Linked DNA regions of Homo sapiens: regions 1, 3 and 4 are each linked to region 2. Evidence: promoter capture Hi-C in 16 types of primary human blood cells and fetal thymus (Javierre and others, 2016). All regions are on one chromosome and are shown on one strand. Each heading gives the region's core, a stretch centred on a gene start or on the middle of the fragment in contact. The rest is flanking DNA. Distances are from core to core; before and after follow the strand shown.

The links. Contacts are between HindIII fragments. The CHiCAGO score rates a contact against its expected background, and 5 or more counts as called.
Region 1: a contact is called between a fragment that was not itself captured here and the fragment with the promoter of IGSF6 in region 2, in 1 of 17 cell types (M1 macrophages). The highest score is 6.3, in M1 macrophages.
Region 3: a contact is called between a fragment that was not itself captured here and the fragment with the promoter of IGSF6 in region 2, in 3 of 17 cell types (neutrophils, M2 macrophages and M1 macrophages). The highest score is 8.1, in neutrophils.
Region 4: a fragment that was not itself captured here is called in contact with the fragment with the promoter of IGSF6 in region 2 in 1 of 17 cell types (total CD8 T cells); the score reaches 6.6 in total CD8 T cells.

The regions. Positions count from the first base shown.
Region 1 is chr16:21,978,845-21,984,998 of GRCh38, reverse strand. It overlaps UQCRC2 (ubiquinol-cytochrome c reductase core protein 2), which reads right to left. Exons shown (of 14, transcript NM_003366.4): 13 at 4,299-4,452; 14 at 1,339-1,911. The coding sequence ends at 1,828. It overlaps PDZD9 (PDZ domain containing 9), which reads left to right. Exons shown (of 4, transcript NM_001363519.1): 4 at 339-1,134. The coding sequence ends at 732. It also overlaps the pseudogene LOC100420644. Among named protein-coding and RNA genes, the nearest start is that of PDZD9, 19 kb to the left of the region's middle. The HindIII fragment of the contact is 1,716 bases long and covers 2,419-4,134 here.
Region 2 is chr16:21,649,240-21,655,578 of GRCh38, reverse strand. It overlaps IGSF6 (immunoglobulin superfamily member 6), which reads left to right and starts at 2,971. Exons shown (of 6, transcript NM_005849.4): 1 at 2,971-3,047. The coding sequence starts at 2,981. METTL9 (methyltransferase 9, His-X-His N1(pi)-histidine) reads right to left here. Exons shown (of 5, transcript NM_016025.5): 5 at 1-352. The coding sequence ends at 147. The HindIII fragment of the contact is 3,735 bases long and covers 241-3,975 here.
Region 3 is chr16:21,960,915-21,967,062 of GRCh38, reverse strand. It overlaps UQCRC2 (ubiquinol-cytochrome c reductase core protein 2), which reads right to left. Exons shown (of 14, transcript NM_003366.4): 5 at 4,547-4,603; 6 at 4,178-4,302; 7 at 1,558-1,655. It also overlaps a transcript of PDZD9 not described here. Among named protein-coding and RNA genes, the nearest start is that of UQCRC2, 11 kb to the right of the region's middle. The HindIII fragment of the contact is 5,384 bases long and covers 1-4,654 here.
Region 4 is chr16:22,081,649-22,088,806 of GRCh38, reverse strand. MOSMO (modulator of smoothened) reads right to left here. Exons shown (of 3, transcript NM_001164579.2): 3 at 4,153-7,158. It overlaps LOC105371129 (a long non-coding RNA gene), which reads left to right. Exons shown (of 4, transcript NR_188624.1): 3 at 1,556-1,709; 4 at 2,613-3,012. Among named protein-coding and RNA genes, the nearest start is that of VWA3A, 7.3 kb to the left of the region's middle. The HindIII fragment of the contact is 640 bases long and covers 4,132-4,771 here.

The DNA.
Region 1 (6,154 bases), core at 2,027-4,526, 330 kb before region 2:
CAGGAGATGGCCAGGTTGAATCCGTCACTTTAGCTGCAGTGAAATTAACCTACCCTTTAACACCTCCTAATATTCTGGTCAGTAGTCTAGTATAAGTCTGTGCAAAACTTTTTAAGGTATGGTGAAGTAATTTAAGGCAGAATTTGATTTCCATTTAGAAATGGAAAAAGATTTCAAGACGATTTAAAAAAGAGAAACATTTCAATGACACAGAAAGGTAATGCTAAAGCTAAATTGTATCTTTTATGAGTCAAAGCAAGTTATAAGGCATCTTGTTAGGGGACCATAAATGTTTAGACATGAAGAATCTATTTTATTCACTATTCTTTTCATTTCAGCACACCAAAGAAAATTGAGCTGGCAAAAGATGAATCTTTCACAAGCAGTGATGATAATGAAAATGTAGATTTAGATAAAAGACTTCAATATTATAGATATCCGTGGTCAACTGTGCATCACCCTGCAAGGAGACCAATATCCATCTCCAGAGACTGGCATGGATATAAGAAGAAGAACCATACTATTAGTGTAGGAAAAGACATTAATTGTGACGTGATGATTCACAGAGACGACAAGAAAGAAGTGAGGGCCCCTTCTCCATACTGGATAATGGTGAAGCAAGACAATGAAAGCTCTTCCTCCTCTACCTCCTCTACCTCAGATGCATTTTGGCTGGAAGATTGTGCCCAAGTTGAAGAGGGTAAAGCCCAACTGGTATCAAAGGTTGGTTAGCAAATCTGTGGTCATATGAGCATTTATCTTGCAGACACCCAAGTTTTGTGCCTCACCAGGCACAAGTTTGCTGTACTTATCAAGGACTGTCTGTAGACTCACCAATTCTCTTCTCTTATGACTGCGTTATAAAGCCTTTAGAGATGTTCTTCAACAGGATTATCTAAAGACTTCCTTGGGTTCTTGCAGGCCTCACAAATCTTATTTTCAGAATAAGACCCTCCTTTTTGAGAAGAATTTCTTTCTTTTAGAAAATGCCGTAGAGAAATCCAATATCAGAATGTCTGAACATAGTAGAGAATGTCACTTTATGTAAACACTACATTTTTCTTTAAATATTTAGTTTCTCTCTTTTTTTTGGTAAACTTCAAGTACTATAATTAAAATAACTAAGAGACATAATTCTTTGGCTAGTTATTCACATTAGAATTCTTTTTTTTTCCCCTTTTTAGCCCTTCTTTTACTGTAAATGTTGAATTGAGAGTTAATTATTTGGAAGAGACAGGATAGTAACAGATAAGGGAGAGACAGGAGATGAGAGAAAAACAAAACTCTGTCAATGAAGATAAATCAGACATAAAAAAATGAATGAATGGGAATATAGGATATGATTGATAGGAAATGTATGTTTTTTGGAAATAATTTTATTGCAAAAAAGGCAAAACAGGGGTAAAAACCAGACCATTTAGCTGTTGACACCCAAAATGACAAATTTTGAACTTGCTTTCATCTTAAACGCCACCAATAGTAATCTGGCACTATTTACCCCGATAGCCACTTAGCCTTAATTTTAATAGTTTCTGATGCTTCTATACTCAATAATTATATTCCTGTCTCCTTTAAAGCATCTAAAACAAAGATATCAGCACATAATAAATACTTGTTGATTAACTCATTGAGAAAAACGTAAGAAAAACACTTAAACAGAATGTTTTATTGACTTTAGGTCAGCTGGGAATAATTACCTGCATTTATGCCTTATTTTACCTCACTGGAAAAAAGACAAATGATATATTAGAGACTTCTGACTTTCATGTGTTTGCTGCTCTGGGCTGAGAGAACGTTCAGCTCTCTCCTGTAATGTGTGCATCAGTATTACAACTCATCAACAAAAGGTGTATGTCCCAAATTTCCACTTGCTGCCATTGACTTCTGGCCAGAAACAAACTTCTTTGCCGCCTTTAAAGAAACAAACAAAAGACAAAATTAACAAAAATAAAAATATATATCATCAAGCAGGCGAACTTATTTTGTCATTTCAAGAATTTATGGATAGGACATTCTTTTTTTTTTTTTTTTTTTTGAGGTGGAGTCTCGCTCTGTCACCCAGTGTGGAGTGCAGTGCTGCGATCTTGGCTCACTGCAGCCTCCGCCTCCCAGGTTCAAGCAATTCTCTGCCTCACCCTCCCAAGGAGCTGGGATTACAGGCATGTATCACTATGCCCAGCTAATTTTTGTATTTTTAGTAGAGACGGGATTTCGCCATGTTGGCCAGGCTGGTCTCAAACTCCTAGCCTCAAGTGATCCACTCACCTTAACCTCCCAAAGTGCTGGGATTACAGGCGTGAGCCACCAACCTGGCCTTCGATAGGACATTCTAAGCCAGCAATTACTATAATAGCTGTTGTGAAAATTAACTAGGAGATGGCTGGTGCTTTAATTTGGGACAGTGTGGGAGGAAAAGCTTAGCTGTTTCTCTGAAAGTCCCATTGTATGTGTAATGAACCAAGCAAGAGCAACACTGGTAAGAGGGTAGCTGTTCAAAGAGAGATAAGGAAAACAACACTGACACTGTCAAATAGAGTAGTGTGGCTTCAGGCAGGGATATACTTTCCTGTTTCGGTATTACAATGGCAAATAGTCTGGGTCAATAAAAATACATTGATTGTTAACTTAAAAGTAAAACTTGATACCCTAGAGGATTCTTTATGCCACTACTTCCAAGTTCAAAGGCTGGTTAAGTGTAGTATCATGAGTCAGGTGTAGGTGGAGCAGCAGCCCCCATATTCTGTCAGGCCAGCTTATCTTATTACTATGAAGGAGAGGTGGTGGTGGAAGCAGTCGGGTTGGGACGCACATAATGATAGGATATAAGATGAAGACAGCCATTTAAAAGAGTACCAAATGGGCTGGGCGCGTTGATTCACACCTGTAATCCCAGCACTTTGGAAGGCTGAGGCGGGTGGATCACGAGGTCAGGAGATCGAGACCATCCTGGCTAACATGGTAAAACCCCGTCTCTACTAAAAATACAAAAAATTAGCCGGCCGTGGTGGTGGGCACCTGTAGTCCCAGTTACTAGGAAGGCTGAGGCAGGAAAATGGCGTGAACCCGGGAGGCGGAGGTTGTACTGAGCCGAGATCGCGCCACTGCACTCCAGCCTGGGCAACAGAGCAAGACTCCGTCTCAAAAAAAAAAAAAAGAAGAGTATGAAATGACGATTGGGGCGAAGTGAAATCAAGTCAGGGTTACTATCTTAAAATAGCCTTGTCTCTTTTTTATTTGAGACAGGGTCTCACTCTGTTGCCCAGCCTGGAGTACAGTGGCATGATCTCGGCTCGCTGCAACCTCTGCCTCCCAGGCTCAAGCCACCTTCCCACCTCAGCCCCATGAGCTCCTGAGTAGCTGGGACTACAGGCGCATGCCACCAAGCCTAGCTAATTTTTGTACTTTTTTGTAGAGATGGGGTTTTGCTACATTGCCCAGTCTGGTATTGAACTCCTGGGCTCAAGCAATCTGCCCACCTCAGCCTTCCAAAGTGCTGGGATTACAGGAATGAGCCACTGCACCCAGCTTAGTTTTTTATTTTTTCTTATCCCCACTGTCCCTATACAAGGTAGACCTGTTGGTGAGAAGATGGCCGAGACATCTACAGTAGAAAGCAAGTTGGCAAGTTTAATGTAGAAAATGGGGAAAACCCACTTACTTTGGATTAATTCTGTAGGTCATGTGCTTGTTAGGCACAGCAGGGAACACAAAGAAGTACATGACATAGTCCTTGCCCTCAAAACAGCTCAATATTGTAGGGAACAATAATATATGTGAAAAAAAAATTAGCAAGAACAAGAGAATGTCCTAGGCTGAGAAGAGTAAAGAAAATCTTAAGATGCTAGATGGTGAAATATTGCTAGGACTGAAGAGGAAAAATAGCAAACTTCACTATTTAGGTTGGATCATATGAAACTGCTAATATTTGACTCTTCTTTACTTCTAGTCATCTAACATAAGCCCATTTTATAAACTACCATTAGTTTAACCTAACGTTTGATACGTTAGGTGTATTAAATGCACTTTTGACTGCCATCTCAGTGGATGGCAGCCCTCTTACTGACATCACAGTTTAACCTAATGGTAGTTTATTTGAAGGAGGAAGATACATATACTCGAGCTGACAGGGAAGCTTGTTGCGGATCTTATGGGAATGAGCCCTCCTGCCTCCACATTAAGTAGATGAGCACCAAACATAAGAATAATACACTGCCCAAGGACGCTTATGCATCCTTCTGAAATTGGATCATTAAGGTTAAGTTCTCTGTTGTTAAATCGTTAAGTTTTCATTTACTTACATTTATGATATCAGCATTAGCCACTGAATCAATCTGCTGAAGGACTGTGGATGGTGGCATGTAAGAACCAGCAACTAGAGCCTGGGACCCGACTTCTTCCAGGAAACACTCAGAAGACTCCACTGACATTAGGTATCCAGCTTTCAGCTTGTTCCTGTCCAATAAAAGGCAGAAGTCAGTTTTAGAGAGCAAGGCAATTATTTTTTTTTTCTGAGTGGTGGCGGGGGGCTGTGAACATCAAAGCTTTATTTAATGGATAGAGTAACAGCGTGTCTCCCTCTTCCTGAATTCCCCAAGAAGAATGCCACTCCCTTCTCTGGAACATACTAAAACAGTAAGTCTGAAGGGAAGAAGTCTCTTCAGGGTTGCCAAAGTGTCCAATTGAGGGCCCACTTTGGCCTCCATTTGTGGGTCCATATGCTGCTACAGATTTGAGTGAGACAGCTGGAGAGCTCCCTAATGCTTCCCAAGGCCTCTGGATCCGGTTGTGCAATCTGGATCCTCTGCATGTCACTGGCCAGTCGCAGCATGCTCTTTCTCCTGCCCACTGGCACAGTGAGGAAGATCTCTCTGCTGTCAGTGAGAAGGCTGTCATCCACTGAGATGGCAGTCAAAAGTGCATTTAATACACCTAACGTATCGAACATCATAGCTTGGCCCAGGTTATCTCATATGTGCTCAGAACACTTACAATAGCCTGCAGCTGGGCAAAAGTCTTCTAACATAAGCCCATTTTGTAAGGAAGCATTGATTATCTCATGTACTGCATATCACTAGCCTAGGAAAAGATCGAAATTCAAGGTATAGTCATGTACTACATAATGATGTTTTTGGTCAATGATGGACCACATATATGATGGTGGTCCCGTTAAGATTATTAGGGAGCTGAAAGATTCCTATTACTTACTGACAACATAATGTTGTAGTGCAATTTTAAAAAAATAAATTTAGCGTAGCCTATGTTTACAGTGTTTAGTATCTACAGCAGTGCACAGTAATGTCCCAGCCCTTCCCATTTACTCACCACTCACTCACTGACTCACTCGAAAGCAGGAGCTATGCCATAAAAATGGCATACCATTTTTTTATCTTTTGTGCTGTATTTTTACTGTACCTTTCCTATGTTTAGATGCACAAATACTTACCTTTGTGTTATAACTGCCTACAGTATTCAGTACTATAGTACATGCTATACAGGTTTGTAGCCTAAGAGCAATAGACTATACCATAGAGCCCATGTGTGTAGTAGGCTATACCATCTAGATTTGTCTGAACACTGAGGTTCACACAGTGATGAAACCACCTAACACCACATTTCTCAGAATGTATCCCCATCGTTATGTGACCCATGACTGGAAGCTGAAATTGCGATGGTTTTCCTCCATAGTCAAGTTGAAAAATTATAATTGATCCATGGCAAGTTGGGGACAGTGTATATTGTAAACCTACCTTTTGGCTGCTACAGTGTGAAGACCAGGGATCTTGAAGAGCCTTCTGTCAAACCAGGGTGTCAGGCCTGTACTTGGTGTCACCACAGACAACTCCACCTGGCCCACAGCTGGGGTCACAGTGTTATAAAGGTCACAGTCTTGACCTTTTCCTTTTGCCTTTTCCTTGTATGAAGTGGGTTCTCTTCTTGGATGGAGGATACCGTTCAATGCTTGTAGTTTGAAGATTCTCATGTTTATTTTCTTCTTATGCTATCGTTTCACTTGTATTACCTGTGAGTTTTGGCAGGTTTCGGGGGTGTCTGAAGAGCTTCTGCTGTCTGTTTATTTCTGTGATATCCACTTCAGCTGTTGCTGCCTCTTTTAGGGCCTGTTTGTTTTCACCAAGGGTGAAGTAGTCAAGCCAGT
Region 2 (6,339 bases), core at 1,722-4,221:
TTAGTATTTTGGCTTTTTAAATTCCTACATGATATTTAGAATGGCGGTCCCCAAGGGTCCTCCCTTCACGTAATTGTGAACACAGACCCTCTTCCAAGGGCACATCCCGGAGGGTGCGGACTCTGAAGACTTCGACCTCCACGTGTTTATACTGGTTTGAGAACAAAGACAGCGTCATCCAGAACGTAGTAGTCATTATACATGTCGCCTTCACACAGGTATGGTAGTCTGGTGAAAGCTTCGATAACAAAACCAGCTTTTCTGAAAACTTCAGGCAGACTATTCACTTGTTCTTCCCAGTTCTGTCCTTTGATTTCCAAAATTTCTGATGGTTTCTCCCACTTGCCACCTACTAATACAAATAAGAACATTCAGTTAAATTCTTGAACAAACAAGTGATTTAAAGAGGGAAGCAGGGAGGAGCCATATCTACCAAGGACTTGGTACGTTCCAAGCCTGAGGGCTTCATGAGTTACCTCTTTTGTACTTCCCAGGTACTCTTTGAGACAGGTGGGCAGATAAAGAACAGACTCAGAAGGGGTGAAGAACTTGCCCACGCTTGCAAGGTTAATGAGTGTCAGTATGGAAATGTAAGCCCAGGTTTGTCTGGATCCAAGGCCCCACACTGTTATCTTCTCTGACAGTTTTGGGTAGTATCTGCCAATAGACTGACTGCAGGGTGTAATGGTTAATGGGTTTGGAAAACTGGTCATTAAATGCTGGAATACTGAAACAGAGAGCAACATGTAATATCTGAAGGACAGTTTTGGACAAATGCAAGAAAATACCACTGGCATAGTAAACTTATGCAACTTACTACCTAGAGAGATTTATTAGGCTGAAAATAAAAACAGGCTCATGAAGGATTTTAATTTAGAAAAGCAGATCATTGGGGAGTTTTTCTAGGGAAGTTGACTCATTCTTTGCCTTTTCAGAACAATTTCATAAACATTAAGCTCCAGGACCAGAGAGAGATGGAACAGTAGGATGGATACACCGTCCAGCATTTCTTGGACTAGAGATGAAGCCTCTATCAGTCATTTCCAAACCTATGAGCAGGAGATGCCTGGGGGACAAGGGGACTAGGGAAGGTCCTCAAATTCACATACAAACCTGGCACTGACTACAGACACACACACAGAGATGACAGTATATTTAACTTTGGGGGTACTTTTTAGGTGCTATGGTGATACAAAAACTACATACATCTGTTGAAGTGTTAAAACCAGATTGAGGCCGGGCGTGGTGGCACATGCCTGTAATCCCAGCACTTTGGGAGGCCGAGGTGGGCGGATCACGAGGTCAGGAGATCAAGACCATCCTGACTAACACAGTGAAACCCCGTCTCTACTAAAAAAAATACAAAAAAATTAGCTGGGCATGGCAACATGCACCTGTAGTCCCAGCTACTTGGGAGGCTGAGGCAGGAGAATGGTGTGAACCCGGGAGGCGGAGCTTGCAGCGAGCCAAGATCGTGCCACTGCACTCCAGCCTGGGCGACAGAGCGAGACTCTGTCTCAAAAAAAAAAAAAAAAAAAAAAACAAAACAGACTGAGAATAACTTTCTGTTAATGAGAAAATATATCATGAGCAGATGCCAAGGGCACAGACATCATATCATGGTGGGGAGATTTTTCATAATTTTCAGTGGTGCAGATGACGCTCTTCCCATGTCTGGGGAATTGCCTGCCCAGAGTCTGGGAGAGACACAAGGCCTGGGAGCCGCTTTCCTGGCCTGCCGTGCAGCTGAGGCACTGGCACGCAGCCTAAGCCAGGCACACTTGCCCATGCCCTGGAATGGAGAGCCAGTGACCCAGAGTAGTGGGGATGTGAGCTTCTCCTTCTCTGGGGGTGGAGCAATGGCAGTGAGACCAAGGGGCTGGGGCAGTGGTTGAGCGATGCTGACAACAGGGCTGATGGCACCTAGTGTTTGGCAGTGGCAGTAGCATCCTCTTCAGACCTGTTTATGGTGTGATTTGAGGCATTCTTCCTGGCTGTGGACCCCACACAAGATTCACTAGCCCTCCCAGTGACTCTAGGATCTACCTTCAAATGTTTGCATAAATTTCCTTTTAAGTCAGCCTGAGTCTGTTTCTGCTGCTTTACAAAGAAGACCCTTACTGAATCACCACTAAGTGCTGGGGGAGAGGACACAGAGGACAGAGGGCCCACATATTTGTTTCTCAACACATTAAAAGGGGGTCTTTGGGCCAGGCATGGTGGCTCACACCTGTAATCCTAACACTTTGGGAGGCCAAGGCAGGGGGATCGCTTGAGGGCAGGACTAGCCTAGACAACACAGAATCTACAAAAAAAAAAAAAAATTAGCCAGGGGTGGTGGTGCATGCCTGTAGTCCCAGCTACTCAGGAAGCTGAGGCTGCAATGACCTGCAATCTTGCCACTGCATTCCAGCCTGGGTGATAGAGACCCTGTCAAAAAAGGGGGGAAGGCAGGTGTCTTTGGATTCAAAACTGGAGTACAAAAAGTTAATAACAGACAATTTATTTATTCGCTGCATTAGAATGTGTTGTTTACTAACTTTTCTCATCTCTACACAAAGCCACTTCTCCTTCTGCTGTTCTTTGTTCCCAGCAGTTACTGGCCCAGAGTGGCACCCAGAGCAGGTACCCTAGACAGTGACTGAACTGTTCTGAAAAATCCAAGTACGAATTATTTGTCAAACAATACTCCTTCCTGGAAATATGTGCTAGGTGTAAATCAAAATCTCACCCAGAAACATCTAACACCTATGACAACTGTAAAATCCATGGAAAAAAAAAAGATATGCACATTTCTAAATGTGCTCCAGGCCAAAATCTCAATGTTAAATGGTGAAGCCATCCTTGCACAATTTCAAAAAGTTCCTGATTATGGTTCCTTCATAAGAGGTTCCTCTCTTCAGCTCTTCTTCCCTTCTGAAAAAAGAAAGCCAACTTTCCTTTCAAATACACACCCCAACCCGCCCCGGCATACACAGAAATGGGGACTGCGAGCAGAAGCAACATCGCTCGCCATCTGCAAACCAATCTCATTCTATTTTGTGTCGGTAAGGTTCTTTTTCTTCTCCTCCTTCATTTTATTTAAATCAACTGCTATTTTTCACCTAATGCATTTATATTTTAAGCTCCTTCAGATTAATTTTTAAATGTATAACATTATGAAAACTGCCTAAGAGGATAAGTTTCCTTTTTCCCCTGAGAAATAGACAATAAAAAAATAGCTGAGAAAAAGTTTCATATTAACCTTGAAAAGTCTCTTTGCTATTATGCTAATTGGAGACAATCTGACCAAAGGGTTGAAAATATTCTTAAAATCGTAGGTATAAGTTATCAATAATTTAATTATCATACAAACTTGATCTGCACATAGAAAGCAATAAATGATTATTTGCTGAATATTTTCAAAGAACAATTTCTATAAAAGTACTTTTCATTTAAGAAAAAAAAAACTGCCATGACTCCAATAGCCATCCCATAGTATATCTATTTTTAAAATTCTGTCTACTTCTGTTTTTTTATCTATGAAAGAGAAAGGATTTCCAATACATCTAGTAATCTCAGATTTGCCCACACAATTTGGATTATAGGGCAGGGAAGGGGGGAAAGTTCTTAATTTTTTCTCATCTGTGAAGAAATATATCAAAATGTTAATGGGAGTTATTTCAGGCAAAAGGACTATGGGTGACTTTTTGCTTCTACTTTTAATAACCTGTTTTTTGCTAATAAGTATATATTACTTTCATAGACTATTTTAATTAGCATTATTTTAAAGAAGAATTCCTGTCTTTTAGAGATATATTCTGAAAGATGCAGATAAAATGGCTGGGATTTGCTCTAAAATAATATGGGAGTGAGGGAGTAGGTGGGAGGAGAAAAGAAACAAGATTGGGTCGAAGCCATGTGATGGCAGGGGGTTGACTGTACTACTTCGCTACTTTGATATGTTAGAAATTTGAAATCTAATATAATAAAGCTTTGGGCTGGGCGTGGTGGTTCATGCCTGTAATCCCAGCACTTTGGGGGCCAAGGTGAGAGGATCACTTGAGCTCAGGAGTTCAAGACCAGCATGAACAACATAATGAGACCCCCATTTCTACACAAGAAAAAAAAATAGCTGGGCGTGATGGCACCTGCACTGCACCTGCAGTCCCACCCACCTGGGAGGCTGAGGCAGGAGGATCACTTGAGCCCAGGACTTTCAGGCTATAGGGAGCTGTGATTGTGCCACTGCACTCCAGCCTGGGCAACAGAGCAAGACATTTACTTACTTCTTACTTACTAGATAGAGAGACAGCTTTGTTTAAATGTCAAGAATTAGTTCTCTTCCTACTTTCAATATGGCTTTTTTGTTTGTTTGAGACGGAGTCTCGCTCTGTCACCCAGGCTGGAGTGCAGTGGCAAGATCTCGGCTCACTGCAAGCTCCGCCTCCCGGGTTCACGCCATTCTCCTGCCTCAGCCTCCCGAGTAGCTGGGACTACAGGCATCTGCCACCACACCCGGCTAATTTTTTGTATTTTTAGTAGAGACAGCGTTTCACCGTGTTAGCCAGGATGGTCTCGATCTCCTGACCTCGTGATCCGCCCGCCTCGGCCTCCCATAATGCTGGGATTACAGGCATGAGCCACCATGCCCAGCCTCAATATGGTTTTTTAAAATAATAAGAATAATCTTTCTATTCCCTCCATGGAGGAAATAAATCTTCAACCTTTTCATTGGATACTGTGTTTAAAAAACAATTCCTAGAATATGAGGATTCTTAAAAGAAATCATTCACAGAAGCAGGCTGTGGTGTGACATATCCAAACTTCTCTTTTTTGTTAATAGGTTGCCTAACTGGTTGGGGGAGGGAACCACAGTTTCATCACAAGTTCCTGCTCACAGAGGAAATCATTACAATTGGTTTTCTCCCACACATAGCCTAATTGGGAAGAAGGTGGAAATAAGTAGAGATATGAAATTCCAAAGTTACAAATACCTGTTTTTATCCTATACTACTAGTTTTTAAAGAAAAGTGTTGAAAGTCAGCTATCCCCGCCACCCCAACCTCTATTTTTTTTTTTTTTTTTTTTGAGACAAGAGTCTCACTCTGTCACCCAGGCTAGAGTGCAGTGGCACAATCTCAGCTCACTGCAACCTCCACCTCCTACGTTCAAGCGATTCTCCTGCTTCAGCCTCCCAAGTAGCTGGGATTACAGGCGTCCACCACCACACCTGGCTAATTTTTTGTATTTTTAGTAAAGATGGGGTTTTACCATGTTGGCCAGGCTAGTCTCGAACGCCTGACCTCAGGTGATCTGCCCGCCTCGGCATCCCAAAGTGCTGGGATTACAGGCGTGAGCCACCATGCCCAGCCTCTATTCCTTTTATAGAGACAGGATCTCACAATGCTGCCCAGGCTGGAGTGCACGTCCAGACTCTATTCCTTTAATAGAGACAGGGACTCACAATGCTGCCCAGGCTGGAGTGCAGTGGTGCCATCACAGCTCACTGCAGCCTGGAATTCCTGGGCTCAATCAGCCTCCGGTCTCAGCCTCCTGAGTAGCTGTGACTAATGGCCACACCACCACGCCTGGCTCTTTGGCTTCCCTTTTAAAAACACTACCCAATTTGGAAGGCTGAGGCGAGTGGATTGCTTGAGCCCAGGAGTTTAAGACCAGGCTGGCCAACATCGCAAAACCCTGTCTCTACTAAAAATAAAAAAATTAGCCAGGCGTGGTGGTGCACACCTATAGTCTCAGCTACTCCAGAGGCTGCAGTGAGAGGATTGCTTGAGCCCAGAAGACAAAGGCTACAGTAAGTTAGCCAAGATCACACCACTGCATTCCAGTTTGGGCGACACAGTGGGACCCTATCTCAAAAATAAAAATGTGTAAATAATGGAATCGTCCACTTTTTAAAAATAATTTTACAAATAAAAATAAAAACATTATCTGAAAGATGACTTGAGACTGAGACAGTGCTTAACTTTGCTAAGTTTTGGCAGACCCAATTCCATTTTAAATTTCCACTCAGTATATACTATAAAATGTTTCACTGTACTTGTAAGGTGCTTGAGTCTGGGCAGGAGACATGAGGTTGTATTTCTCAGACTTGAGAGGGAATCCAATCCCCTTGGCTGGAGATGGAGCTGAGCTGGGCCTCCCACAGACACGAAGCTCAGAGAAGCTTGCAGGCCTCCTCCAGGTGACTGCACCCTCTTGTCTGGTTTGCATTTATCAGGTCACCACAGAGCTCCCAGCTCATCTCATGTTGCACAAATACTAAAATATAACATGATGAGAAGAGAGCAAGGCGCAGTGGCTCACACCTGTAATCCCAGCACTTTGGAAGGCCGAGGC
Region 3 (6,148 bases), core at 713-3,212, 310 kb before region 2:
ATCTTGATATTTGTCTATAATGCATACATACATACCTTTTATTAAAAAAAAGGGACCTTTTGGTATGTCCTAATCCATAAATTGCTTTATGTGACAACATGCTGTGGAGTTTTATGTATCAACTAATATTTTTGAATGGTTGAATACTGTTCCATTCTATAAGTTATTTAACTAGTTCCCTAATGCTGGATATTAACTTGTTTCTAATTTTTCACAATTATAAACTAGTATTACAATAGCCATCCTTGTAGATAAACTTTTGCTAAGTTTTAGCTAACTTAATGACACATCTTCATGAGGGTGAATTTGATTTCTGAAAAATTTCAAAACTCATTAGAGTCCAGTCTTATGAAAACGGCTGCCTGTTCAAGTTGGATGATGTAAGTTAAAATTTCTAAATAAAAGTGCCATATGAATGAAAGGCATCAAACTGTTAATTGATAAGTCAAAAAGAGCAAGGGATACAGTTTAGTTTTCTGTAACAGCTAACTAAGAATAAAACGAGAATAAAAACCTTGAATTTTTGAGTCAGATATACTTTGAAGGTGTTGATAATTACAAATTTTTCTCTTAATGTCTTTTGATAAAATTTGTTTTTGGGTCTGGGTGGTAGGAATAGGAAATTAAGATTATACGCACATATCTACACTTGTAGATTTAGCATTCAATGTTTCATGTTTTGGAAACAAAGTTCTAAGATGCACATATGGCTGTGGCATGTGACAAACCCCTATAGCCAGCAAACGGAGGCTGGTGTGCTGAAGAACGTGAATGAGTGAGCGAGGATGGAACAGGAGCTAAGGAAGTGGGCTCAAGTCTTATTTACAAATTCAGAGAGACCAAAGAGTTTTAGTCAAAGGACCTATTTTATATATATGTATACACACACACATATATATATATTTTTTTTTTGTAGAGACAGGGTCTTGCTATGTTGCCCAGGCTGGTCTTGAACTCCTGGCCTCAAGTGATCCCTCTGTCTTGGCCTCCCAAAGTGCTGAGATTACACGCATGAGCCACTGGGCCCAGCCCCTATTATGATACTTAAACATTTAAATACTGTTTAAAAAAGATACACAGGCTGGGTGCAATGGCTCATGCCTGTAATCCCAGCACTTTGAGAGGCATAGGCAGAAGGACTGCTTGAGCTTAAGAGTTCAAGACCAGCCTAGGCAACACAGCAAGACCCCGTATTTAAAACAAACAAACAAAAAAGATACATACACACAGAAAACGGTTTAGAAGAAAATATACCAGGTATTAACACTGAGTGCCTTTAGGTATGTGAGATGTTTTCTTTCCCTTCATTTTGTTTGATTTTACTTTTTAATTTTTCTGTAATGATCATGTCCCTTTAGTCATGAAAACATTTCTTAAAGGAGACACAAAAATTGTTCAGATAAAATTTTAGTTAAAAAGCAGGTGGATGAAAAAGCTAGCACGCTGAATTTCTTAAAGTTAGAAGATAAAAGGAAAAATTAACAAACAAACCTGAAATGGGAGATGTTCAATTTAATGTGAAAAACAAGCACATTTCAAAATATGTTTTATTGGTACCTCCTCTGATGTCACTTTTCCAATCCTATAGTCAGGACAATACAAGGGATTAGCCAAGGCATTCCGGTAAGCTGCTGCATGCAAATTTTCAATGACATCTGTGAGATAAGTGAAGAAGCATTTAGGGAAATGCACTTTCAGTAAAGACAACATTTTTAAAACCTAGAAAGCAACAAGCCTATACAAATTTGGTCATCTTCTGGCATTCATATGTTAAGAGGACTTAAAATTTATTATTATTTAACCTCTAGTAACTGCCAGTTTCTGCCAGTAGAATGTGCTGAGAAAAAAATAAAAAAGATTACATGGCAGCAGCTTCTATATACTGGAGTCCACCTAAACCACTTTTCTAACTTTAACCTAGCTGGTATCACTTGGAAGGTATACTGGCCTGGGTTTTGGGAAGTCCCCATCTAGTTATGGTTCTGCCGCCATCTTGCCATGTGACCTTGGACAAGTCATTTAATCTGAATTTTACTTACTCCTAGGTTTCCTCTCTAGGTAATAAGGAGATTGTCAGGTAGCTTTCAGGGGACCAATGGGAGCTTCCACTGGGACTTACTCCTCTGTGGTGCTTGGTGCTTTCCCTGCTTTCTTGCTTCAATGCCTTTTTGCCTGCAGTATTTCCTTCAGTTGCTCATTACCTGGCAACTTGCCTATGCGAGGCACTGTGCTAGGTGCTAGAAATACAGAGATGTGGAACATACAATGCCTGCCCTCAAATTTTAAGAGGAAAAACTGTGAAATAAAGTATTATGGGTGCAATGTCGGCAGTGTGTCAAAAGTGCAGTAGAGGTACAAGGCAAGGGCAGTGGGAATTGGAAAACAATTAATACAAGTAATATGTGGGATCCATCTTACAGAATGAGCTGGTGTTTCCCAGGGGAAATCATTTGGGAACAGCATTTTAGGCACAGGAAGCAGACAAAACAAAGGCATAAAGTATAACAATAATTTGATTCAAATGGGAATTGCAGCTGGAAGGAGAAGAGGGTAGAGCATAAAGTAAGAGAAGTGGGCTGGGGTAAGATCACGCAAGGCCATATACGTATATGCTGTTTGGACTTTATCCCATAGATAATAAGAAGGCTTACTTTCACGTCAGAAGGATCACTGTAATGGCCGTGTGGGAGATGGACTCAAGACGTAAACCTGGAGGCTGACACCAGCCAGGAGACTACACAGTAACTGTTCAGGCAGAATAGATGCAGGCTGGTGCCTCACTGCCGCCAGTGGGGAAGAAGCCACTCTGGACACATAGGTCATCTTTTCTAAAATTGTACTATTCTATCTATTTCTTCAGTAGAAATCCTGAGCAACAAAGATAATGCTCCTCTGTGACACCAAGCATCATCATGAAATAACATCAGTCCCCAGGCCTGCATGTGGAGGGGAGCCTGTCCCATGCTGAACCACTGAGTTGAGCTATTTCTGCTCTTCCTGCACATTTCTGCTCCCACCAGAAGTTGTATGACTCCCAAGAGTCAGCGGCGCTTGCTTACAGACTTGTATTACCAGTTGTACTTGTCAAGATTATATAATTAGACATTATATAAACATAAAATATGAATGCAAAAAAGATTCCTATTAAAAAAATTAAGTTACTTACTTTGGAAAGACTCAATAAAGAGGAGATGGCTAAACAATAATAGCAATACAATAGTAAGCAATAATAGCAGCAGCAATAAACTGGTGTAGGATTTGGGGTAAGCAAAACAACTCTTAAAAATCACTAGGGGTCAGGCACAGTGGCTCACGCCTGTAATCCCAGCACTTTGGGAAGCTGAGGTGGGAGGATCACTTCAGCCCAGGAGTTCGAGACCAGCCTGGGCAATAGAGTGAGACCTCATCTCTATAAAAAAATAAAAATAAAAATTAGCAGGGTGCGGTGGTGTGTGCCTGTAGTCCCAGCTACTCAGGAGGCTGAGGTAGGAGGATCACCTGAGTCCAGAAGGTTCAGGCTGCAGTGAGATTGTGCCACTGCACTCCAGCCTGGGCAACAAGCAACACCCTGTCTCAAAAACAAACAAACAAACAAACAAAAACAAAACATTGGGAAGGAAACAGGAAAAACTTCTAGGATCTTACAAACAATTTACTTACCATCAAACATGAAAAATGATTATAAATGTTTAGAAACAAAAGAATAATAAATCTAAATAACAAATTTTTGAAAAAGATATTTTCAAATTCAAGGAGTAAAACATTTGGCCAGGCATGGTGGCTCACACCTGTAACACCAGCACTTTGGGAGGCTGAGGTGGGTGGATCACTTGAGGCCAGGAATTCAAGACTGAACTCCAGTCTGACCAACATGGCAAAACCCTGTTTCTACTAAAAATACAAAAAATTAGCCAGGTGTGGTGGTGCACACCTATAATTCCAGCTGCTCAGGAGGCTGAGGCAGGAGAATTGCTTGAACCCGGGAGCTGGAGGTTGCAGTGAGCCAAGATCGTGCCACTGCACTCCAGCCTGGGTGACAGAGTGAGACTCTGTCTCAAAACAATAAATAAATAAAAATAAAAATAAAAATTTTGACAGCAATTTTTTTTCTTCTATAAATTGATCTTCTAAAAAACCCAGTATCTTAGAATCAAATGTGATCTGGAAATGTACTTACGAGTCTGCGGATTCTGAAAGGCCACAGCTTTGTCAATCTTTAGCTGAGGCTGAAGGTCAGCTACTTCCCAACGACGAAATTCTGGTGCTGTGGTGACATTGAGCAGGAACTCCATTAGAATATCACTACAGAAGACATCGAGATAAGAATTATGAGTCAAAAATGTAAAGCCAACATTTGAGATTCTACATAGCTGTAATGCTCTCAATGTGAAACTTTAGGTCTTGTGGTAAGCAGTGTTTTTGAGCAGTTTATGAACAATAATCCAAAATGGAAGTCAGAGGTCATAATGACGCATTACAAAGACCAGAAGTGAGCAGCTTAGTATTTCTTTCAAAGCAGAAGTCCTAAACACACACAGGTACTTACACATCACCCCGCAGGCATTCCACAGTATAAGCCATGTTTTCCCTTGTTGCGGTCACACTGAATCGGAAAATAAACTAGAGTAAATCATCTGAATCAGGATAGTAAGCTTTCCCTTATAATCTTCTATCAACCAATTCCTTTGGAAAGAAAATTTCTGAAGTATAAAAGGTGCGAACAATAATATAACAAAACTCCACATATTAACCAACTAAAATTCAAAATTTTTTTAAAAACCAGCAAATAATTCAACCTTAAAAGGAGTGAAATCTGGTCACATGTTACAACACAGATGAACCCTGAGGACATTATGCTAAGGATAATAAGCCAGTCACAAAGGGACAAATATTGTATGATTCTACTTATGAGGTACCTGGAGTAGTCAAATTTGTAGAGACTGAAAAGAGAATGGCAGTTGCCAAAGGCTGAGGGGAGGGGAGAATGAGCAGCCATTGTTTAACAGGTACAGAATTTCAGGTGGGAGAAGATAGAAAAGTTCCGGAGCTGAATGTTGGTGATGGTTGCTGAATGCCACTTAACTGCACACTTAAGAAAATGATAAATTTGGGCCGGGCGCAGTGGCTCACACCTGTAATCCCAGCACTTTGGGAGGCCGAGGTGGGCGGATCACTTGAGGTCAGGAGTTTGAGACCAGCCTGGCCAACAGGGTGAAACCATGGTCTCTACTGAAAATACAAAAATTAGCCAAGCATGGTGGCGCACGCCTGTAATCCCAGCTACCACGGAGGCTGAGGCAGGAGAATCGCTTGAACCCAAGAGGCGGAGGTTACAGTGAGCCAAGATCATGCCACTGCACTCCAGCCTGGGCGACACAGCGAGACTGTCTAAAATATATATATATATATATATATATATATATATATATATATATAAATTTTATGTTATATACATTTGACCACAATTTTTTAAAATGGCAAATAAAGTTGAAGATCTTTTCGTACCCTTCCAAGACCAATTCCCTCACTCTCTCCCACTCTGGAAACCACAATCATAAGCACTACATAGTATTTTTCTGCTTAAAAAATTAAAATACCTTAAAGAAATCTTGAAACTTGCTTGTTCACACTCTATTTTGCCCTTCAGTTGTGCTATGTTGACGTATGGATCTAGTTCATTCCGTAATGGCTGTATAGTGGTCTCATCATGACTCTGTCATACTTTACCCATTTCCCTAAAGATGGACACTTAGATCGTTTCCAGTCTTTATAAAGAATACCTTTGTGAATGTGATTAAAAACTGTGGGGTTTTTCAATATTACCAGATATTCCTTGATTCTTTCCTAAGTGGTTGTATCAATTTATACTCCTATCAGCAGAATGAGACATTCTCTATCATCTTTACCACTGACAACACAATATATAAAAAATCTGGGCTGGGTGCAGTGGCTCACATCTGCAATCCCAGCATGCTGGGCTGAGGTGAGAGGATCACCTGAGGCCAGGAGTTCAAGACCAGTCTGGGCAACATAGTGAGACCTCCATTTGTACAAAAAATAAAAAATTAGCCAGGCATGGAGTCATGTGCCTATAGTCCTAGCTACTTGGGAAGCGGAGGGAGAAGAATCGCTTGGGCCCAGGAGTTCA
Region 4 (7,158 bases), core at 3,202-5,701, 430 kb before region 2:
AGTCAGGGAGCCTGGCTGTGAAACCCAGATTCACCAGTTGCTAGTTACAGAACCTGGAGTAAGGTGTTCAGCCTTTTGATCCTTGGTTTTGTAGTCTATAAAACACCACCCTGTACTTCACAGGTAGAGGATTAAGATGACATATGGGAAAGCACATAACACATGAATTTACTGTTAGTTTCCTTCTCTAAACGTAGAGAATGCCACTATTATTTAACCACAGTGCTTTTGAAAATAGGAATTCCTTTAATAGTTGATACGCTTCAGTTAGAATGTCAGGTTATTATGACATTTGAGAAGTTTTTGTTATCCAAGGCCTAAGTTCACAGCAGCATTATCTGCAATAACAAAAATCTGGAAGCAACCTCATGTACATCAAAATGGGAAGACACATATTTGATATGTATCAAATGGAATACTATGCATTTAAAATGAGGAAGCTCTATATTTACTGACACAGAAAAATCTACATCACAAATTAAGTCAAAAAAGAAAGCCACAGGGCATGCATGGTGGCTCCCAGCACTTTGGGAGGCCAAGGCAGGAGGAGACTGGGAGACGACCCTGGTCAACATACTGAGACCCCCATCTCTATAAAAAAAAATTTTTTTTTTAATTAGCAGGCCGTGGTGGCATGCACCTGTAGTCCCAGCTACTTGGGAGGCTGAGGTGGGTGAATCGCTTGAGCCCAGGAATTTGAGGCTGAGGATTGTGCCATTGCACTTACTCCAGTCTGGGTGACAGAGCAAGACCCTGTCTCAAAAAAAAAAAGCAGTGGCAGGTATAGATAATATCTTGCTTTTGTTAAACTGATCAGTAAAATGTCTGTTAAAATACCCAATAAACTGTTAACAATGGTTATCTCTGGAAGGTGGATTGTGGAGGAGGGAACTTTTTGTTTCCTATATTATTTTTGTGTTTTTTAAAAAAATCTACAGATACATGTTATTGTAAAAAGAAAATTTGTGTCCCGGCTCAAGGTCATAATTTCTTTCTCCACAATAGCACATAAGGCAGGAAAAAGTTACTGATAACCCTGAAGGCAGAAATTAGGTAAAGTATTGGAGTGGTGCATGTAAGGGTGGGACTGCACCAAATAAGTTCATTTTGCTGCTTACTACCTATCTTAGTAAAACATTTAGAAGATGAGGTAGTCAAAAGCCTTCTTAGATATGTCAGTTTTTAAAGAGCAATTTATTATGGAAAATGGAAAGGATTTTGGTTCTTCAACTTCTTTGCATTTGTCATAGAAAACAAAGGAATGGAAAAGAGTGAGTTTTCATATTTTTTATTTAAGAAAATACTTGAATTGCCTTAGACAATATTAAATATTTAAACAACATGAGAAAGAGTGCCAGAGGTCAGAACATAGTATTTAGTTCACTGAGTTGCCCTGACAGATAATGAATGGGGATTGATTTAATAGTGACCAAATACACTGGCCATATTTACTAAAGTGCTGTAAAATGGCCAAGTGAGGACAACTGCATCTAAAATGAGATCAAATCCTCGAGTCCATTCCTTTTAGCAGAAATGATTAAAACCATCTTGGCAGGACCAAGTCTTTGCAAAACCTATCAAATGGATGGATGGCTTCAAGACAGCAGAGAACCCACAAGCTTGAAGAGGCCTCCGGAGAGTTCACTCAGGATAAACGGGGTGCTGGCATCGTCCTGGTCCTCTCTGTACAGTAACAGTGTTACAGCCCTGTGAGTTCAGTAGTAAAGGATCTGGAGTCCATGGGGAAATTCTAAGGAGATCAATGGAACTGATATATTATATAGCCAAATACTTATTAATAAAGTAACCATCCTTATAAAGGCTGATTTAGGCAAGCCTCTGCCTTCAGGAGGAAGTTCACTGAAACAAACCTGGCAGATTGATGACTCTGTCTTTCAAATCTCCAGGAAATATGGTTTCATAATTTTTCTTTATCACCTAGCCCCAACTTTAATTTTCATAATTCAGTGTGTAAAGCACTGTGCCAGGTTTCTAGTGAGTACACAATGAGGAAGCCATACTCTTTGCATTCAAGAGTTTATATAGTTATACAAAAGCACTTACTAATGACAATATCAGCAACTAACATTTGAATGCTTACTATGTGCTTGGAACTTTATCTCCTTTAAACCAACAATAGCCCCATTAAGTGGGTAATATTATTAGTCCCATTCTACAGATGAAAAAACCAAGGCTCACGTAAGTTACATGATTTACTAAGGGTCACACAACTGGAATGGTGGAATTGAGATTTAATCCAGGCAGTCTATGCCTGTTTAGCAAGTTCTGTTACAGAAGCATAAGAAAAAGAGACACAAAGCACAAAAGATTAGATATATTTCAAATATGGGAGGACTTTAAAACTGAGAGGAGGTGGTACAGACACAACCGGGGCAGGGAGCAGGTTGTAGTGAATCTAGAATGGAGAACAGGCTGGTTGTCAGTAAGAAGTGACGAGAGAGAGAGGTGGGAAATGACTGAACAGAGAGCTTGAAGCCAGATCACGAAAGCTTGTCAAAGCTATGCTAAAGGAGTTTGGATTTCATTCTGTAGACAATGGGAATGACAGAAATGTGAACATGGAAATAATATGCTTTCTTTTGTGTTATGAGTATCTTGGCAGAATTGATTTGGATGGATCAGAGTGAATGGAGACCAGTTGAAGGAAGACTGGTTCAATGGCTAGAGAATATGAATGTTGGTCTTAAGTCCAAGGCCCACATGTCAAAGACGAGTGCTCTGCTGATATCTAGTTGAGTGACTTTGGAAAAGTCTGAGGCCTCGATTTCCTCACCTGGAAAGTGAAAACACTGGACATGCTCTTTGACATTTCATCCAGCACTGAAATTTTATAGTCTTGTGAAAAATCTCTTCTTGAAATGTTATCTTGGGTGGTCTTAGATTGTGTGTGACTGGAACTGGGGCTGATTTGTAAAACCCTTGAATGTGCTTGAAAATACCAACCCACAGTGTTTTCTTCTCCTGGGAAAAGAACCAAAACTCTTAAAAAATATACATTGTGCTTTCTATCTTTAATACCATTTATAAATAACTACCTTTATTTTTGTTGCTGGGTAACTGTGACCCAGAAGAGTTGACTTTGCATAAAAGGAACCCAGAGTCCTCTAGTCTTGGTGTTTTTCCTATAATCTTCTCATAGTGGCTAGAATAGAGATGATAGAAGAATAAGTCAAAATAAAGTATTTTTGAACCCATGTTGTTTTCAAAGCCACTGTGTTACCTTTTCCTAAGGTATTACCAAATAGAAAAAGTGTCCCCTCCACCATAGCAGCTCAGCATAAATCTACCATTACAATTTCCAATTGACCTATTCATTAATGTTTATAGAAAATAACCCCCCAAAAACCTCTAATCTGTGTTACAAATCAGGAGAAGATTTAGATGATGTGAAGATAGGGTAGGGTGACCAACTTATCCTAGTTTGCCTGGAACTTTCCCAGACATAGTACTTCAAGTCTCACCTCCAAGGAAACCCCTTAATCTTAGAACCCAAGAACATCTAAATCTTACCATGTCTTAATCCTCCAATTCCCCAGGAGGCTCCTCAAAAGGCCACACAAGGAAGAATCAGCAGCAAACTGTAAATATTTTATTATTATTATTCGGTTGGGCTAATCTTGACACCCCCAGAGAGAGCTATAGTTAAGCTGTGACAGGGCCTAAAGGCCTCTGTATTTGCTCCTCCAGCCCATACTTTAAGATTTTAAAAGCTAAGATCTTTTGGCCTGGAGTAAAGTAGAAACAGAAGACTGAAGCAAAGATGGACTTGGGTCTATGTGCAAGGAAGAAAGAATAGAAAGATAGTTGGCTTGAGGGCTTTGGCTTGGTTTCTCTCTCCTAGCTCATGGAAGCATGACGCAGAAGGGAAAGCCACATGTATGTGGTCTTTTATTGCTGAGTGACTCTTGGGTAATCATGGCCTAATCCACGTCCTGGAATATTAATGGCATCTCTTCTCTAGCGGTGAGCAAAGAGTGGGAGTGGAAGAAGATAGGGAAAGACCGCCCTCACCCCCCAATGCCAACAACAAAAAACCAACCCAAGAGGCATGGAAGTGGCACTTGTGAATATGTGAAACCTCCATAAGAAATCAATTTTTTAAATGAAGCTTATTTCAAAGTAATAGAAGCCTTTTTAGTTTCTTTAGTAGACAATTTATTTTGATAAACTTGCTCAATAACAAAAATACAAGTGAGGAAAATTATGTTCATTTTATACAGTTGTATTAACAATTTGTTTTGAAACTATTAATTGAAAAATGTTATAACCAATTAGAAAACAATTCTTAATAAAGTTTGGGATAATATACAGACCTTGATCACAAACTTCAAAATCTCTTGAGGTGATACAACTAAAAGTCCTGTGTAGGGAATCCTACCTACACGGGCCACTTTTTTCCTTCATGTTTTTATCCTTCAAAAATTTTCTGAAAGACAGCTTACTGTTTTGAATTGTGAATGTAAATTTAATTTTTTAAAGATGAAGTGGGTTGATAAAACAGTTACTATAATCAGAGTAACTTGTGGCTAGTAGTCTTTTAATAAAGACAAAATAAATGCAACATGTTCTTCCCATGAAGCCCATGATGCAAAATAATAGCTAACAGCATATGCAAAGTTAGTTTCCAATACTGTATTTTTCAGGGCCTTTCCTCTAAATCAACAGATTGTTTGTCACCAGGACTATTTATTATTTCACTTAATAGATTAAACAGTGAATTCACAGAACATCAAGTGGGGATATCAAAGCTTTAGGCAAAAGGGTAAAAACCAATAGTGTTTTGGTCATCTAGAACATTAAAAAGAAAAAAGAGCCATCCTTCAAAAACAAAACAAATGAAACAGAAAATAGGTTTATAAGAGGTGGAAGAGTCAGAAAAATTACATACACACATTAACAACATAGAACATGGATTACCTTTGGAAAGAATCATACTGAAATGTTTGCTTTTAATAAATTGAAGATTTTTCATGTTTACAGATGTTTGGGTATGTTCAATAGGAGCTTCCAAAAATGTCAAACTAATTCAGTCTTGTGCAAATAAAACCTAAAAATAGTTTTCAGCAGATTTTACAGTGATATTCTTAGGTATGAGAAGAATGCACACACTCTAAAAACAATGAAACAGACAAAAGTTTGACAAATGATTGCACCATAAAACAGTGTTTTATATACAGTTTACAAGATACGATTTCCTGCTATAAATTAATACTGTACTATATAGTACTTATTATAGTGACCTTTTTTAAAAGCAACTGCGGACAGTTGTCTATCTTTTCACTTATAGGATTTATAGAAATCTATATGAATGAATCCATTTCAATGTCTGGTCTGCAAGAGTACGAAGACTTGACTTCACATACTACTTGATGGGATGGTTTAATCCTGGGTTAGAGTGCTGACTGGCTAGAGGGAGTTTTCCCCCATCAGCCCTGTATGCACTGGACCTCCAAGACAACAATGAAATTAAAGACAATTTAATGGTTTGGGTAATAGATACAAATAAAACCTTAAATTTTGTAATCTTAAATGCAATACCACCATAAGTGAAAGAAGTAAACAGTGGGGAAATTCTTAGCAGCTGAGAAACTTTCTCTCCCCATGCTCATGATCCAGTTAAAAATATTTTGAGAAACTATTTACAATACAATTCATCTTTTGGAAGAGAAAAGCTCTTGGTCATGTCATAAGTTAATTTGAACCATACTTTGCTAACACTTTATCTCAGTGGTATATAACGGTGACAACCAAAGCTTTCCTTCAAAGTGATCCATTTGACTGAGGACCAATCAAATCAGAATAGCAACTGCAATCCCAAATGTCCATAGAACATGTCCAGTGGTATTCTTAGACTTGACTAGACATCATCATACTTGGGGAGAAACAGTCTCCCTCAGGATCTCCCAAAGGTTTCTTTTACTCTGGGAAGGAAAAGTATGACATTCTCCCAGAACACTTAAGAAATGCACCACAGTGGTGGTCCATCTCTCTCCCCAATTCCTGAGTGAGCTCAAACACTGGGGTTTTCTTTCACAATAAAATACTGCTGAATTAACAGTAAGATAGAAGACTGTCAAACAAGCCAGTGTGAAACACATCAAGCACCTCCATTTCATAGTGTGAATATCTGAGGAGGTAGCTCCCATCTTTGAAGTAATCATTCTAGAACTGATAATCTAGCCTTAAAAACAGTGCGTTCATTTCTGCTTGTGTGAAGCATGGGCCACATGGGACTCTACTGACAGGGAGTCATTTGGGTCATCAGTTCACTATAAATGACAGGGACATTTGGGTCACCAGTTCACTATAAAGAGGAGAAACTTAGCTCCACTGCCATGAAACACCCTGTCCCACATTTCAAACAGGAGATTATCTATAGTGTTCACCAGGAAAAACAAGCATTGATGCGAAGGCATGGAGATGTGGAGAAGAGAAATACTGTATTTTAAAACTGTGAGTTCAAGGGTTAGCTGCAATGCTTCTTTTAGGGAAGAACTTAAAGCTGTGGGTTTAGTACAGCCCTTTAAAGTAAATGCAAAAATATTAGCTTTTAGCAAACAAAGGCATATAACATATAAAGAAAATATTGTATTGCTCAGGTTTTGGTAAAGATGTATTAATAATGCTTACAGATAAAAATAATGAAATTAGTGTTGTAAATAGCCAAAATAGCCAGATATTTACTAGCGAACTTTGTATTTATGTAAAGTGTGCCTGAACATATAAAATGCATTATTAATGTAACAGACTGAGCCAGTAGAAAAAGAATCTCTGTACAACAGACAACAGTTGCCAATAATTTAAATAGTGTCAGATTCCCCAAATTATAAGGTTTGACATGATCTTACCTTCTACTATCATATACAAATAAATTAACCCTACAAATAATTTTTAGCTTAACTTAAAATCGCACCTAGAAAGGTATGGGATTATCTGTACCTATTACAAAAACCTGTTAAAATCAAGGGCTGCTACAAAGAATGAGGTAAACTGAAGACTCTCTCCACTATGCAGCCTTCAGATAAATGGCTTTTTTTTCTATTGGGTTCTAGGTTTGCACACCACAGTGTTTTGCTAGCAAAGCATTCAGAATTCTCTTCCAGGAACTGTTTGCATGTGTGTGTATATAAATTTACA